Regions from separate parts of the Homo sapiens genome. Here region 2 is linked to region 1. The links are contacts of gene promoters, found by promoter capture Hi-C in human tissues and cell types (Jung and others, 2019). All regions are on one chromosome and are shown on one strand. Each heading gives the region's core, a stretch centred on a gene start or on the middle of the fragment in contact. The rest is flanking DNA. Distances are from core to core; before and after follow the strand shown. Region 1 holds the start of WFDC6 (WAP four-disulfide core domain 6). Region 2 overlaps LOC107987282 (a long non-coding RNA gene).

Region 1 (3,030 bases), core at 193-2,692:
GTACACTGGTCTATTTCTTCCACTTCGCATTCCACTTTGATTTTGGGACACGGCTCTAAGGGAGGGGAAGATATATTCCCTCAAGGCCTTAAAGGAGCCAGTGCTCCCCCTCCCCGAGACCAGGGCACCCCTCCAGAGTTAGAGAACTTTGTTTCCACTTCACCTATCCCCAGAAGGTAGTGGCCCTCAGGGGGCTCAGGAATTTCACAACACTGCTCACATCCCCAACCCCATAACAACTCACCATCGGATGCCTAAACCAACCCCTACCCCCTACCCGCACCATCTATGAGATTCCTGAGAGAAAGACGCATTCCTCTAAGACTGTTCTGGTCACTCAGCCTTGCTGTGCTTGGTTGCTCCCCCAGGAGGTGCTGTGGCTCTCGATGATTGAGATTAACATTTCTGGCATCAGATAGCTGGGCTTTTGAATTCTGTGAGACGCTTGGTGTGCCAGGCACTCTCTCTGAGCCTTGATTTCCTCATTTGCCCATAGGGTTGCTTTGAAGACTAACCAGCAACACAGTTTGACAAGCCATCGTCAAACTGCCTGGGGCAATGTAACGTAACAATGAGTAATATGGATGAAGCACTTACTGTGAGCTGCCTTTTCTCCTTAATCCTCATTACAAATCTATGGGTAAGTACTCTTAATATTCACATTTTGTAAACAGAAGAATTGGAAGCATAAGGAGATTATGTGAATTTGCCCAAGATCACACAGCTACTCAGGGGTGGAGCCAGGTTTGAACCTACAATGTGTGGCTCCTGAGTGCTCACTTTCAACCACTAATTTTCAGTGCCCAGTACAGTTAGCTGCTAATTGTGAGTCTTCACATTTCAGCATTCCAAGGGACTTCTGGAGACCATTCTTTAACCCAAAGACCAGGGTCCTCTGTGGGTATGGGTGTGGGGGCTGCAATGAGAACATTTGGAAGTTGACACAGGTGGTGTTGTGGGGAGCAGCCTGTTTTTCTTGTGGGAGACTTCCTTGGGCTTACTACTCCTTCTTAGTTCATTTCATGAGCTCTAGGTCCAGGCACCTCCAGGAAGAACTCTTTGGAATGGCAGCAAGGAGTCACTTGCCACAGATTTGGATGCCTGTATTCACCAAGGGAGTCTCTTACCAAGAGACTTCAAATAGCTCCCCTCTTTCCCACCTGGAATTCCAGGCAGAGGTGGAGAAAATAATTTCTCAGCTGCAAAATTATTCTTTGTTCCTTCCTCCCCACTGAGTTTCCTTTCCCCATTGCAAGGACGGAGTTCCCAATACTTACTGCCAAGGATGCCTTCAGCGTGCCCAGGTTCCTGGATGTCCCCCAAAAGGATGAATGGTACCAGGATTGGCAGAAGTCCTGAGAGTCCCATTTTAGGAAGTACTGGCCTGGTTGATGGCACCAAAACTAAGAACTGCTCCTCAGCAGCTCCTACATCTGCACTTTGCCTGCCCCGGTGTGGCCCAGCACCTTAAGAGACAGCCCTGGAGACAAGCCAGCCAGACTCCCCGATCAGGAACACCAGATCCCTGAGGCCATCAGTGGGACTACCTGGTACCTACACTGGGGGATAGGTGGCTCCTAATCCTCAGCAATCTGAGGCTTTCTGGTCTACCAGGGAAAGAGGGCACATGTTGTCTTGGGCTTTCCAGGCTCCCTTAGCAGAAGGGGAGGTTTAACTCCAGAGTCTTCCATTTCCCAGGGGGAGTTTGCAGGTTAACAGTATGCTAGCTCTCTTCCTTCTTTCTAATTTCACTCTTCTCCTGACATGTCTATTCTTATGTTTTATTTTTCTCACTCTGTTTCTTCTCTTTTCTGTGCATCTGTATGTCTTTTACTCTGTGCCTGTCTTTTTCTCAGGGAGTCTCTGTCTGTCTGAGTCTCTTTCTCCCCGCCCTTCACTTCCCTCTCTCTTCTTTCGTATGTAAAGATCAGTTACATTTATCCTTTAAGTCGTTTGATTTTGCAACAGTAAATAACTTCTTTCATTACTTTGGGACTTCTCCAACTCTGTTCTCCGTTTTTCCCTGTTGTCACAGCTACAGCATTGGATTAAAAGTCACACCCTGAAGCATTAACGCTTGAGCATCTGTACCAAGTTTTATATCCTTGGTATAAGCCCGAAGGAGGTGAGGAGCCAGTTACCTGGGCATCAGTTCCATCTGGCAAAGGACTGTGGGTAATGGAAGCATTTCTGCAGGGTGGCAGCAGGGTGTGTGTGCAGCAAGGCATGTCATCAGTGGTGAGTGAGAAGTTCATTCCTTTTTATGGCCGAATAATAGCCAATGCACATTGACAGCCTCCTACCTCTAGCATCAGTCCCTAATTTTCTGCTGTGGGTTTTCTCTGGCCCCCAGGGAGCTTGTATAGCTTGCAAGTATAACAGTTTGAAAGAGCGAGGGATTTAGTATCCCTGGCATCCAGTGGGCGTTGGGAATCAGTGGACAAATAGCTTAGCTTTCCCATCACTGGAGACAGATTAAGAAAATTTGTGGTCTGATATCCAGAATCTACAAGGAACTTAAACAAATTTACAAGAAAAAAAACAAACAACCCCATTGAAAAGTGGGCAAAGGACATGAACAGACACTTCTCAAAAGAAGACATTTATGCGGCCAACAAACATATGAAAAAAAGCTCAACACCAGTGATCATCAGAGAAATGCAAATCAAAACCACAATGAGATACCATCTCATGCCAGTCAGAATGGTGATTATTAAAAAGTCCAGAAACAACAGATGCTGGTAAAGCTGTGGAGAAACATGAATGCTTTTACACTGTTGGGAATGTAAATTGGTTCAACCATTGTGGAAGAGAGTGTGCCAATTCCTGAAAGATCTAGAACCAGAAATACCATTTGACCCAGCAATCCCATTACTGGGTATACACTCAAAGGAATATAAATCATTCTTTTATAAAGATACATGCATGTGTATGTTCACTGCAGCACTATTTACAATAGCAAAAACATGGAATCAAACCAAATATCCATCAACGATAGGCTGGATAAAGAAAATGTGGTACATATATGCC
Region 2 (3,128 bases), core at 43-2,542, 48 kb before region 1:
CTGTCCTTCTACAGGTTTGCATTCTGAAAGAGTGGCCCAGGCAGGGTGATGTCTAACCCAGGGATGGCAAAGGTGTCCACATGCCATCATTTCTTCCACCAGCACCCATATCACATGATTGCTGCTCCTTTCCATTAGCCCATGTGTGGCCACAGAGCCCTCAGCACAGGGCTCCAGGCAGCTGCTACAGCTGCCCATTGATTGGGGTTGATAGATAGATTTGCTACCCCTGATTTAACTCAAGAAATAAAATGCTAATGGTGAAAAGTCAGACCTGGCAGTTGAGGTTTTACTGAGTAAGAAGACTGCACAGGGGACCCTGAGCAGGGGTCCAAAGGAGATGGGACCTCAGGCCCTCCACCAGAAGCTTAAGAGGGGGTAAAGCTTTTTCAAGGGGTCCCTAGCCCAGAGGCCTCCTGCAGAAGATGAGGTGGAAGTTGCCAGGGATCTCAGTAATGCACAGGAAGAAGCTACCAGGGAAGGAGGACTGAGAGGTGGGATGGGGCAGGTAAGAAAGCAGGGGTGGGTTAGACGAGGCAGAACCTCTGGCTGAGACCCTTCCTTTAATTTTCTTTTTTAAGCTGCTTGGTCAATAAGTTTATTGTTTTTATCTGAATAATCTTATAGAAAATGACTATTTGCCAGACGTGGTGGAACGTGCCTATATTCCTAAGTACTTGGAAGGCCAAGTGGGGGAGGATTGCTTGAGCCCAGGAGTTGGAGGCTACAGTGAGCTATGATTGTGCCACTGCACTCTGACTTGGGTGACAGAGCGAGACTCTGTCTCTGAAAAAAAAAAAGAAAAAGGAAAAAGAAAAGACAAGAAAATAGTTGTTTGGCTTAGCGCTCAGCAGCCTGCTCCTGAGCTCTTAGAAAACTTGCCTTCTGAGCTACTCAGTCTTTCTTCTGGACAGGGGACGTCTTGGGATGGTTCCACCTTTTCTTAACTTCTTCCCCAGGCTTCCTCTCGTGAACTGGATTCTCTTGTTCAGCATCATGAGCTTTCTTACATGTCTCTCCGTCATGACTGGAGTTATGTTGTTCTTTATGTATTGAGAAAATTGTTTCTTGTAAACATCTTCATCTTCTTACATTGGGTAATGCATATAATCTGCGATCTTCTGACCCAGGATGTGCTTCTGCATTGAACTCCCTGCTTTCTGAATTGGAACCAGGGAATTGTTTGGTAACTGTGAGGGATAGAAAACCTCAATCCACACCTCCCTTCAGGGCCCCCCTACCTTTATTTCCGTTGGTAGTTCTGGCAAGTAGCAAGTGAAGGCACCAAGTAACCATCAATGCTTCCCATGTGATACCCATCTCTGCTCACCTCCACTTGACCTTCATAGGTGTTGTCCATGCCAAGACTATTGAGGGGCCTTCGGGTCAGCACAGGCCAGTACAATGTGCTGCATCATAATCTGGCTGGCCAACCTTCATGCTACACTTTAGACATTCATGAACATATGCTGTGCAGACAATCATATTCCCTTCTGTGTGGGCAAAAACCATATGACAAATGATCTCTCTGTTAGTTGCATGAACTATCCTGAATTTTGGTGTGTTCTACTTATTTTCATCCTGGATTACCAAGTGTGTCTGAGCATAGTAATCAGTTTAACCCACTGGTCTTCTAAATGTCATCTGTATCTCTTAAAGTAGGCCTTACTCTTAACAATTTTAACACACTCCATCCTCCGGAACAGAGAGCTGTGTCCATGGCTTGACACAGACCTGCAGCGTGCAAGGGGGGCCAGGCAAGGCGGAAGCCCTACGATCATTCTTTGATCAACTTTTGCAGCCAAGTGAATGCTGTAGGTTGGGGACTCTGAAGATTTGTGATTGGAAAGGGGGAAGGAAAAAGGACAGGGTCCCAGACTGGTCTCTTCCCCCTCTTCCAGGCCTTGATGGGCCACACTTGATATAGGCAGACCACAGCAAAGCTTAGTTTTGGCCAGGAGAACAGCTCCCAGGGCCCAGGAATCCCAGTAAACAGGTGGATCGAGATGGGACAGCCAACCTCAAGGCCCCTCACAGAACCACTCAGCCCAGCTGCCCCTCCAGACGTCAGGGCAGGGCTTCTTCCCGCACTTATTTTCTCCCATTTCCGATGGCAAACTGCTTTGCAGATGCCTCTAAAGGCCATCCCCAGCCCAGGAAGCCATGTATGGTAATACCTACATGGAAACAGACATCTTCTCTGCAGGAAAGTGCAGGTTTGGGGTTGGAGCGATAGTAAGAAGTTACATGAGTGAGCTGGAGCTTAGAAAATAAAGTTCTAAAGACAGACCAGTCAGGGAGGGGAAGGTCCTGCCCCAGAAACAACATCAGCAGAGGCATTCACTCATTCAATATTTATAAAGCACTTACTATGTGTTCTATTCTAGGTGGTGGGGATTTGATAGAAGGAAAAGAGTGTGTGTGTGTGTGTGTGTGTGTGTGTGTGTGCGGTGGAGAGGATAGCCAATAAATAAATGAACTAACACATATATAACATGTTAGGTGGAGGAAAAGTTATGGAGAAATACACAGGTAAGAGGAATAGTGAGTCTGGGGGTGGGGTAGAGATGGGGGTGATTACTTTGCAAAGTAGTCAGGGAAGGTCTTAAAGTATTATTCAAGTAGTGAACTCAGTGAAGGAGGACATGAGCTGCGTGACAACCCATGAGAAGAGGAATTTAGAGAGAAGAGAGTTCCAGAACAAAGGACCTGAGGTCAGAGTGTTCTCAGGGTGTTGGGGATCATCCAGGAGGCTGGCATGGCTGGGGTGAATGAGTGGTCAGGAGCCTGAGGTGAGTTGAAGTCAGAGAGGTAGCATGGGCACAGAGAATAAGGGCCTTGTGGCTCATTGCAAGGATTTTGCCTTTTATTTGGAGCAAATTTGGGAGCCACTGGAGGAGTTTGAGCAGAAGAGTGACATATGACTTCAGTTGGAAAAGGATCCTTCTGGCTGCTGTGTTGTGAATACTACAGGGGAGATGCAGAACCAGGGAGGGCAGGTAGGTCACTGCAACAGGGCAGGCAAAAGCTGGCTTAAAAAAATGCTTCAGGCTGGGCATGGGGGCTCACACCTGTAATCCCAGCACTTTGGGAGGCCAAGGCTGGCAGATCACGAGGTCAGGAGCTCG

The links. The method cuts DNA at HindIII sites, captures the fragments that hold promoters and counts their contacts. A contact is called where the count stands out against the background at its distance.
Region 2: a fragment that was not itself captured here is called in contact with the fragment with the promoter of WFDC6 in region 1 in 12 of the 25 tissues and cell types used here (H1 embryonic stem cells, IMR-90 fibroblasts, adrenal gland and 9 more).

What each region holds. Positions count from the first base shown.
Region 1 is chr20:45,538,040-45,541,069 of GRCh38, forward strand. It overlaps WFDC6 (WAP four-disulfide core domain 6), which reads right to left and starts at 1,443. Exons shown (of 3, transcript NM_080827.2): 1 at 1,278-1,443; 2 at 1-55. The coding sequence starts at 1,368. EPPIN-WFDC6 (EPPIN-WFDC6 readthrough) reads right to left here. Exons shown (of 5, transcript NM_001198986.2): 4 at 1-55. EPPIN (epididymal peptidase inhibitor) reads right to left here. Exons shown (of 4, transcript NM_020398.4): 4 at 2,587-3,030. LOC107987282 (a long non-coding RNA gene) reads left to right here. Exons shown (of 4, transcript XR_001754641.3): 3 at 497-640; 4 at 2,036-2,348. It also overlaps the pseudogene HSPD1P21. The HindIII fragment of the contact is 28,992 bases long and covers 1-3,030 here.
Region 2 is chr20:45,489,978-45,493,105 of GRCh38, forward strand. The region is part of intron 1 of LOC107987282 (a long non-coding RNA gene); the gene reads left to right. It also overlaps the pseudogene RPL5P2. Among named protein-coding and RNA genes, the nearest start is that of WFDC2, 22 kb to the left of the region's middle. The HindIII fragment of the contact is 6,084 bases long and covers 1-3,128 here.